Linked DNA regions of Homo sapiens: region 1 is linked to region 2. Evidence: promoter capture Hi-C in human tissues and cell types (Jung and others, 2019). All regions are on one chromosome and are shown on one strand. The core of a region is centred on a gene start or on the middle of the fragment in contact, and the rest is flanking DNA. Distances in the headings are between cores, read along the strand shown.

Region 1 (5,607 bases), core at 1,889-4,388, 660 kb after region 2:
AGAGACGACAAAAAAGGTCTCCACTTAAGTTTGATGGATTAAAAGTGGAGAACTGTGTTAAGAAGGACTCTGAGGCTAGGCCGGGCGCGGTGGCTCATGCCTGTAATCCCAGCACTTTGGGAGGCCGAGGCGGGCGGATCACGAGGTCAGGAGATCGAGACCATGCTGGCTAACACGGTGAAATACTAAAAATACAAAAAAAAATTAGTCGGGCATGGCGGCAGGTGCTTGTAGTCCCAGCTACTCGGGAGGCTGAGGCAGGAGAATGGCGTGAAACCAGGAGACGGAGCTGACAGTGAGCCGAGATTGCACCACTGCACTCCAGCCTGGGCAACACAGCAAGACACTGTCTAAATAAATAAATAAATAAATAAATAAATAAATAAATAAAAGAAGGACTCTGAGGCTAAATCTAAGGTCAGTGGGACAAAGTTCTGAGATCAATCAGCCATGCCTGCTGTGGTTAAAGGTTGGGGAACTTGGATTATACAGATGAGGTCAACTCTCCCACAAGAACAGCATATGATCATCCCCCCCCAGAACTGTGAGGTTATTTTCCTTATAAAAATCTCCAAAAAATGAGACCTTCAGTAACATATTCCAGGCATTAGCCATTCCCAACAGGAAATGTTCTCTAAACAGGTTTAGTTCTTGTGGACTTTCCAAGAAAAGTCCAAATTCCATCCTTCCCAACTCCAGACCTGGGACCCTAATGGAACAGGCGGTTTCCATTCTCTCAGGCCTCCGACAATTTCCAAACAGGACACAAAGATGAGCAGTCTTTAAAGAATGTTTCACGTTCATACAAAAAGGCAGACTTTCCCATCTGCCTGGAGGTTGCTTTTGGGCCACAGCCATGGGAATCGCAGAGTGCATTTGGACATTCCGATGAGCTGCCCTGACAGACCGGCTTCGCCCCAGTGAGGGAGGAGTGCCAGAGTCGCTTTGCAGAGGCCGCAGCCCCCCCAGTAGCTCTGCTCCCCTCTCGGCCACCCCCAGGGCCTCCTGCTCTGCCTGGAGGTGGTGCGGCCTGAAAGGCCCACATCTGCTGCCCTGGCCCCGGAGATGTGTGTTCCCCACTGCCAAGGCCTGTGGTGCCAGCCCCACGTTGCAAGCCGGATTGTGGTGGTCTGCCTGTGTTTGTTGAAATTGGGCTGGGAGAAAGGGCCTCGCCGTCAAGATTCCCTGGAATGTGCACCCGAGTGCTAAGGAGACGGCTCAGTCAGCAAGCTCAGGAAATGGGGCCGAAGGCTGGGCCGGGGCCCAGATCTGGGCCATCGCGCAGGCTGCCTGGAACAGGCCGTCAGGGAGGGAGAGCCAAGGGACCGCCAGGACAGAGGTTGTTTTTGTGTTGATATCGTCCTACTCTCAGTTTGCAGCTTGGGGCTTTCATTACCTTGACCAAGTAGAAAATCAAGTCAAAAGAGTTGATTTTCCTATTTGACACCTAGGGCTTTTTCCAAAAGGAAAACTGAATGGTGCAGAATTTCTGGAGGCTGGTAGCATATTCTCTTTTGTTCCCAAAGTGCAATGTCTAAACCCCTGTCTTAAAATAACAATAGCAACATGAGTAGGAATGAAAGACGTTCCCATTACTTGAGCAGCTACTATACAGAGAGACTGCCCTGCAGGTGATATTCAAAATACTCAATAACCACACGCAGTAGCAGATCAGAACTTACTGGAACTGGTCTCAGCAGCCCTCTCCCCGGCTATGCCAGGCGTTACCCCCTTAATTGCTGGATTATGAGGACATCTGGAGGGGAGACACTGGGGAATGGCTGCTGCAAAAGGAAGGCCCAGGACCTCAGGGCAGAGGTTATTTTCAAACAAGTGTGGTAAAATCCAATCTTTTCGCCACAGTCATGGTAAGATGCCTTGCATCTGAGTGTCTGCCCCAGGGTAAAGCACCTGGGCAAGATGATCGCCAAACACCCCAAATGACTCCACCCACCCTGTACACAGGAGCCCCTGGCCACCCATCGAAAGTTGAGATTGCACCCCTGCCCTTGACTCTGGGCTGGGCCTGCTTGGCCAATGGAACGCAGAGGAAGCGACCTTTGGGTCTTCCACGGCAGGTATTAAAAGGACCTGGCAGTGTCGCTTCCTCTCTCGGAGAGTCAGGCAAGAAATCCAGGTCATGCCATTGGAGGGAACAGCCACATGGATTATCCCTAGAGAGAGAGGCCACTCCTGCCACAGCCACAGCCACCACCTCACGGCAATCTCATGAGAGACCCCAAGACAGACAGTGGGAGAACCACCAGCCAAGCCCCACTGGCTCACAGAATCACGAGACACAATTCAAGGTTGTCGTTATAAGCCTTTGTGTTTTGGGATGGCTTGTCGCCCAGCACAGAGGGCCAGACAGCACCTGACATACGTCCCCTTCTTTACCATCACATCTGTGAGGTGGACATCATGATACCCATTTTACAGACTCCAAATAATGATGTTGTCCAAAACCACACTAAATACTCGAGACCAGCCTAACCAGTACCGTGGACCCCTAAAACATCCTAATTTACAGACAAACCCACAAGTTCCCTCGGACCCTCACTGTCAGACCCTCCACTCTTTATCAGATCTTCAGAAAGCACCAGCTGTGTCTCAGGATTTCTGCGTGTGGTCTTGTCAACCTTCTTCTGCCCATTAGGGCTTCTTGGACCCATGTGAGCTGGCCCCGAATTGTCAGAAGAACTGAGGAACCCACTGCTGTCGCCCACTGTAGCCTCCGCTATCAATGCCTCCAGCCCTTGGGGAGCGTCACTCTACTCACCCCCTGGGCCTCCTCCCAGCAAAGCTCTTCCTGCCCCCACCGTGCGCCAATTCTGGGCACATTCAGCTCCTGGGAGGCTTCTCAAGATGACATTGCCATTCCCGGACCTCCACCCAGCCCAAGTGGAAGAGCAGCCATGCAGTCAGCCGAGCCCATTCTTCACGCCTTACAGATGCACTCCACACTCTGCAGGCTTCCTCTGAGAAACCAAGGCATTGTATAATACAGGAGCTTTATTCCTGTCGGTGCTAATGGAATTGGGGTGGGGGAAATGCTCATTTTTTTCTGCTGCGAAGTACTTTTCCATATTTCTCTGTCTTTGTTATGAAATCTCCCCAGTGATATTAGCTAATTATTCAAAATAAAATTTCCCACTCCAGCTGAATTCCTCCCACCAGAGGGTCAAGTGTTTTTATTCCTGCTGTGCAGTGGTTAGTCACTGGCCCAGCTCTCCCCTCGGCCCTCATCAGGGTGATGGATGCCCAGCGTGAACAATGACAGGCAGGAGAGAAGGAGGGGAGCGTGCACGCCCCCATCCATCCTGTTTCTGCTGGCTCCATTCCCCTGCCTCCCTGTCCTTGCCCTTCAAGACTCTGCTCAGCTTCCCCTTCTTCCAGGAAGCCCTCAGGGAGCTCTCTCCCATCTCCATCCAATGAAGATACCTTAAGATACCGCTCATATAGCCCTAACCTCCTGTCTCTAATCTAATCTTTCTAAGTTTTGTTTTCTCAGCTATTTCCTAAGCTCCAAAATCCCATACCTCATGTTTTTCTTGTAGACAGTATCAGCGTCATCACAATTCAGCGGCTGCCCTGTGTTCAGACACTCGGCCCTGTGCTTCATGTGGGTTGCCTCATTTCATAATAGATACAACGATGTCCCCAGTCTGCAGAAGATGAGGCTCCAAAAAGGTGAGCCACAAGGTGTAGCTGGGTTGTGAGCTCAGGTAGCCCAAGTTCAGAGCCTGTGTCACTAACTATATTAGTAATTAACCTATGGCCTTTATTGAGCATCACAAATCAGAAGGAGAAAAAGTGAAAGAGCACATTTTATTGCAAATGGGCAATAAAGAAAAAGATAATGGTTTGGTGGTAATACTGAACACTGGACAAGATATACAAAGACAGGCCCTCTACTGCATTGCTTGTGGTGGTCACCACTTATACAAACATCCTAGTATTTGCTTGGATGGCATAGTACAGGTATCCTAAAATTAGCCCAAAGGTTTTACTCAATAATTCCTGCTGCGGAATAGCCCCTAAGGAAACGAGCACAATGTGGATAAAGATTTATACACAAGGCTGTTCTTGCAGCATGACTTCCAATAGCAAATACTTGGAAACAATCTCAATGAACAGCAATACGTATGACATGTGGAAATCTGGCTGGTGTTTACTTTCTTCTTTCCTTTTCTGTACTTTCCAAATTCCTTCAAAATGCATGTACTTCTTACATGATCGGAGGAAAACTCAACCACATTTTTAAGGCTGGGCAGGGACATAGCCCACTTCATTAGCATCAGAGAGGACAATTTTATGGAGGACATTCTGGCAGCACATGTTCCAACAGAACAATTCTCCTTCTAAGACCACATTTGACACAAATCCTCACAAAAATGCACCAAGGTATATGTGCAAGGACATTCACTGAAGCACGACTTGTAATAGCAAAAGGCTCAAATCAATCTAAAAGTTTACCCAAAGGGAATGGTGAAATAAATCATGGTACATCCATACAAAGGCATACGGTGAAGTTAAAAAGAAAGAAATGCAGCTAGAACATGAAGGATTGGCCATGACATTGCTCAGAGAAAAAGCCACATTGCAGATCCATGTGTGTAGTATAATCCTATTTGTGTAAAAAAAGTATAAAGGTATGTGATTGTTTATACAGACATTAGAAAGTCTAGAAGGATTTACATCAAACTCTTAGACAGTGGTTACCTGAAAGGGAAACTAACTGGAAGAATTAGACACTTTAATGTTTTACTTTGCTTTTATATTGTTTGAATCATTTCCAAGAGCGGTACTGCTTTAGGCAAGTAAACAAGTCCTTTATTTACTTTTTCTTATGGAAAAATTCAAATACATGCAACCATACAAACAGCAATGTAACAAACCCCAGTGTGCCTCTCCCCAGCTTCCAGCCTTGCCAGTGATCAACTCCTGTCCAATCCTGTTTCACCCCTACGCTATCCACCCAGATTACGGTGCCACTGTCACACTCAAACATAACAGTAGTTTCTTAATGCTATCAAGTTTCTAGGCAGTGTTCTAATTTCCAGTCCCTCGTAACATTATGAATTATTTTTAACAGTTCAAATCAGAATCCAAATAAAGGCCCCAAGTTATAATAGCTTGATATGACTTTTAAGTCTTTTTCTTACATGGATTATTCATTCTCTCTCTCTCTGTGAGTTTGTGTGTGTGTGTGTGCATGTATCTGTGTGTGTGTATATATATATGTGTGTATATATATACGTGTATATATGTGTGTGTATATATATGTGTGTGTATATATATGTATATATATGTGTGTATATATGTGTGTGTATATATATATATATATATATATATATTTGGAGAGAGAGAGAAGTGTTAAAGAAACCAGGACATTTGTCCAACAGGGTCTCCCCATAGTCTAAGTGCAGCTGGCTGCATCATCATAGTGTCATTTAACTTGTGCTTCTGTCCTTCATGTTTCCTGAAAATTGGTGGTTGGATCAGGAGGCCCAGTTAGGTTCAGGGCTGAGGTTTTGGGCAAGGTTGCTTCATGAGCCATGGTGTGCTTTGCCATCAAGAGTCTCTGGTCTCTTGTGTCGTGATGCT
Region 2 (4,874 bases), core at 992-3,491:
AACGTAGGCAGCAACTGCCATTTTGGAATTTATTTTTTCATAGTCCTTAGCTATTTTAGGTTTTGCTGTGATAAAGCTGTTTCTCTCTCTCTCTCTCTCTCACACACACACACACACCCCTCGTAAAAGCAGAGTAAATAATATTCCTCCAGGAAGCCTACAGGCTGAGGAGTGTTTCTTGATCAATAGTTTGCATTTCCAGTAAAATCGTGACACGAACTCAGTGTGCCTGTCATGCGCTGCAGGAGAAGGGCACTTTTTGCTAGTCCTTTTTTTTTTTTAAGCTAGATGCGGAAATACTAGCTTATTAAAAATAATAAAGTCATGGTGGGAGTTTAGGGTTGGGGCAGAAAGCTCAAATCATTTGCCTGTGAGCTGAGAACTGGGCAGCTTTATTTTACTTTGTTTCAAAGAAAGAAGAAAAAGGATCAGGTTAGAAAAAGAGCCCAGAATACTCATAAAAACAATGTTTCAGAAGTGGAATATTCAAGGTAAAGGAACCTGATTTGTAGCTTCCCTTTGGCTTTGAATTGATCAGGAGACAAAGATAATGCATCTACATTTTCGTCTTCTGTTCTTTTATTGGAAATAAGTGGCACGCCCCATTGCCTTCTAGTCGCCTCCCCGAAGCGAAGAGGCCGAAGCGAAGAGGCCTGGTGGGTTGTCTCAACATCCTTTTGCTGAGAATCGAATACGCAGCCGATGAACAGCCAGGAAGGGTGCAAGGAAACCTGAAATACAAATGTTCTCCCTGAAGCCCTCTTCCCTGCCCAACCAGACCAGCAACTTCCAAAATTCTGCCCGTGTTTAGCCTTGTTAAAGGGGTGTCTCACTCCTTCAGGGAAAGTGGGAAAAGGGGATCTGATTATTGAGGTGTGGAAGGAATAAATAATCAGTCCACAAATAAACAAACTGTCCGGGATTCCTAGAGGGAAGGAGAAATCCTTGAAGGAGATCCAAGTCGCTCCAGGTCTGCCTGCCGAATAATATCATCCCGAAGGGATCTTGAACCGTTTGCAATCAACCGCTCACCCAGTCTTCCCACGGAGCGCGCTCCCTAACTCACCCTACCCACCCAACAAAACAAAAAAAAGGCTGAAATATAGAAAAGCAACTTGGAGGCTCCCAGGGGGACGTTGCCAGGAGCAGGAGGCAGGGACAGCGCCCTAGGGTCGGTGTTAGCGGCCGGCGCCGGCCTGGGCCACGGGAAACGTCCACGCTTGGTGCCCGCGGTGCGCGGCGCTCATTGCGCGCGCCTTCGAGCCAAGCCCCCGCGGAAAACAGGCTCGGGTTTCTCCTCGCAGGGCCCAGGAACTCGGCTCTGCCTGGCCCGGGTGGGTCGCTGCATTGTCCCGGTCTTCTGGGAGTGCGGGGTCAGCTTGTTAGAGGGAATTTCTACCTGGGAAAAGGGAGACGAGTTTCGAAGCTGAAGTTGGTAGGCTGCGAGTGTCCACGCGGGAGACGAAAGGGGGAAATAGCAGAGTCACTTCACCCTTTTCCCCAAACCCCACAAAACTGCTCGCAGCGACGCGGATGATCTACCGAATTCCCCGCGAATTCGGAGGATTAAGTTGTCAGTCAGCACGTTGCTACCTTCCCCTCTATGCACTCCGCTGCCTGGCTCCTCGGCGGGGAGCGAGGGAAACTCAGTTTGTAGGGTTTACCTCTAAAACCTCGATAGGTTATCCTTGACGACCCCGAGCCTGGAAACTCCCTGTTGATGATTAATTATTTGATTAAATAAGTATAACATCCAGGAGAGGCCCTGCCATTCCAATCCAGCGCGTTTGCTTTGAATCCATTACACCTGGGCCCCCATAATTAGGAAATCTAATTATTCGCTTCATCACTCATTAATAAGAAAAATGTCCCAGGATCATTGCTACTTACAAGGTCTTTGGGAGAGATATTTTACTCTATTAATCCATTCTATTTTATATTTCAAATTGATTTTTTTTAACAGAGGAAAGTGGCTATCTTTTTGTTTTGGGCATGTGGGCCCATTCACCAAAATGTGATCATAAAATAAATTTTAATAAGATATAACTTTTTAAAAAGTTTTCAAGTGAAGACGGAGTCGCCGCGGAGGCCGGGGCGGCGGGGTCTTAGAGCCGACGGATTCCTGCGCTCCTCGCCCCGATTGGCGCCGACTCCTCTCAGCTGCCGGGTGATTGGCTCAAAGTTCCGGGAGGGGGCGTGGCCCGAGGAAAGTAAAAACTCGCTTTCAGCAAGAAGACTTTTGAAACTTTTCCCAATCCCTAAAAGGGACTTGGCCTCTTTTTCTGGGCTCAGCGGGGCAGCCGCTCGGACCCCGGCGCGCTGACCCTCGGGGCTGCCGATTCGCTGGGGGCTTGGAGAGCCTCCTGCGCCCCTCCTCGCGCGGGCCGAGGGTCCACCTGGGTCCCCAGGCCGCGGCGTCTCCGCTGGGTCCGCGGCCGCCCGCCTGCCCGCGCTGCCGCCGCCGGGTCCTGGAGCCAGCGAGGAGCGGGGCCGGCGCTGCGCTTGCCCGGGGCGCGCCCTCCAGGATGCCGATCCGCCCGGTCCGCTGAAAGCGCGCGCCCCTGCTCGGCCCGAGCGCCGCCGCCCGCGCACCCTCGCCCCGGAGGCTGCCAGGAGCCCGGGGCCGCCCCTCCCGCTCCCCTCCTCTCCCCCTCTGGCTCTCTCGCGCTCTCTCGCTCTCAGGGCCCCCCTCGCTCCCCCGGCCGCAGTCCGTGCGCGAGGGCGCCGGCGAGCCGTCTCGGAAGCAGCATGCAGGCGCGCTACTCCGTGTCCGACCCCAACGCCCTGGGAGTGGTGCCCTACCTGAGCGAGCAGAATTACTACCGGGCTGCGGGCAGCTACGGCGGCATGGCCAGCCCCATGGGCGTCTATTCCGGCCACCCGGAGCAGTACAGCGCGGGGATGGGCCGCTCCTACGCGCCCTACCACCACCACCAGCCCGCGGCGCCTAAGGACCTGGTGAAGCCGCCCTACAGCTACATCGCGCTCATCACCATGGCCATCCAGAACGCGCCCGAGAAGAAGATCACCTTGAACGGCATCTACCAGTTCATCATGGACCGCTTCCCCTTCTACCGGGAGAACAAGCAGGGCTGGCAGAACAGCATCCGCCACAACCTCTCGCTCAACGAGTGCTTCGTCAAGGTGCCCCGCGACGACAAGAAGCCCGGCAAGGGCAGTTACTGGACCCTGGACCCGGACTCCTACAACATGTTCGAGAACGGCAGCTTCCTGCGGCGCCGGCGGCGCTTCAAAAAGAAGGACGTGTCCAAGGAGAAGGAGGAGCGGGCCCACCTCAAGGAGCCGCCCCCGGCGGCGTCCAAGGGCGCCCCGGCCACCCCCCACCTAGCGGACGCCCCCAAGGAGGCCGAGAAGAAGGTGGTGATCAAGAGCGAGGCGGCGTCCCCGGCGCTGCCGGTCATCACCAAGGTGGAGACGCTGAGCCCCGAGAGCGCGCTGCAGGGCAGCCCGCGCAGCGCGGCCTCCACGCCCGCCGGCTCCCCCGACGGCTCGCTGCCGGAGCACCACGCCGCGGCGCCCAACGGGCTGCCTGGCTTCAGCGTGGAGAACATCATGACCCTGCGAACGTCGCCGCCGGGCGGAGAGCTGAGCCCGGGGGCCGGACGCGCGGGCCTGGTGGTGCCGCCGCTGGCGCTGCCCTACGCCGCCGCGCCGCCCGCCGCCTACGGCCAGCCGTGCGCTCAGGGCCTGGAGGCCGGGGCCGCCGGGGGCTACCAGTGCAGCATGCGAGCGATGAGCCTGTACACCGGGGCCGAGCGGCCGGCGCACATGTGCGTCCCGCCCGCCCTGGACGAGGCCCTCTCGGACCACCCGAGCGGCCCCACGTCGCCCCTGAGCGCTCTCAACCTCGCCGCCGGCCAGGAGGGCGCGCTCGCCGCCACGGGCCACCACCACCAGCACCACGGCCACCACCACCCGCAGGCGCCGCCGCCCCCGCCGGCTCCCCAGCCCCAGCCGACGCCGCAGCCCGGGGCCGCCGCGGCGCAGGCGGCCTCCTGGTATCTCAACCACAGCGGGGACCTGAACCACCTCCCCGGCCACACGTTCGCGGCCCAGCAGCAAACTTTCCCCAACGTGCGGGAGATGTTCAACTCCCACCGGCTGGGGATTGAGAACTCGACCCTCGGGGAGTCCCAGGTGAGTGGCAATGCCAGCTGCCAGCTGCCCTACAGATCCACGCCGCCTCTCTATCGCCACGCAGCCCCCTACTCCTACGACTGCACGAAATACTGACGTGTCCCGGGACCTCCCCTCCCCGGCCCGCTCCGGCTTCGCTTCCCAGCCCCGACCCAACCAGACAATTAAGGGGCTGCAGAGACGCAAAAAAGAAACAAAACATGTCCACCAACCTTTTCTCAGACCCGGGAGCAGAGAGCGGGCACGCTAGCCCCCAGCCGTCTGTGAAGAGCGCAGGTAACTTTAATTCGCCGCCCCGTTTCTGGGATCCCAGGAAACCCCTCCAAAGGGACGCAGCCCAACAAAATGAGTATTGATCTTAAAATCCCCCTCCCCTACCAGGACGGCTGTGCTGTGCTCGACCTGAGCTTTCAAAAGTTAAGTTATGGACCAAATCCCATAGCGAGCCCCTAGTGACTTTCTGTAGGGGTCCCCATAGGTGTATGGGGGTCTCTATAGATAATATATGTGCTGTGTGTAATTTTAAATTTCTCCAACCGTGCTGTACAAATGTGTGGATTTGTAATCAGGCTATTTTGTTGTTGTTGTTGTTGTTCAGAGCCATTAATATAATATTTAAAGTTGAGTTCACTGGATAAGTTTTTCATCTTGCCCAACCATTTCTAACTGCCAAATTGAATTCAAGAAACCGATGTGGGTTTTGTTTCCTGTACAAT

Evidence for each region. The method cuts DNA at HindIII sites, captures the fragments that hold promoters and counts their contacts. A contact is called where the count stands out against the background at its distance.
Region 1: a fragment that was not itself captured here is called in contact with the fragment with the promoter of FOXC2 in region 2 in 1 of the 25 tissues and cell types used here (lymphoblastoid cells).

Annotation. Positions count from the first base shown.
Region 1 is chr16:87,226,611-87,232,217 of GRCh38, forward strand. No RefSeq gene overlaps it. Among named protein-coding and RNA genes, the nearest start is that of C16orf95, 88 kb to the right of the region's middle. The HindIII fragment of the contact is 7,930 bases long and covers 1-5,607 here.
Region 2 is chr16:86,564,588-86,569,461 of GRCh38, forward strand. It overlaps FOXC2 (forkhead box C2), which reads left to right and starts at 2,242. Exons shown (of 1, transcript NM_005251.3): 1 at 2,242-4,874. The coding sequence starts at 2,749. The coding sequence ends at 4,254. It overlaps FOXC2-AS1 (FOXC2 antisense RNA 1), which reads right to left and starts at 3,174. Exons shown (of 2, transcript NR_125795.1): 1 at 3,030-3,174; 2 at 558-731. RefSeq lists enhancers at 2,377-2,961, 2,962-3,545. The HindIII fragment of the contact is 12,739 bases long and covers 1-4,874 here.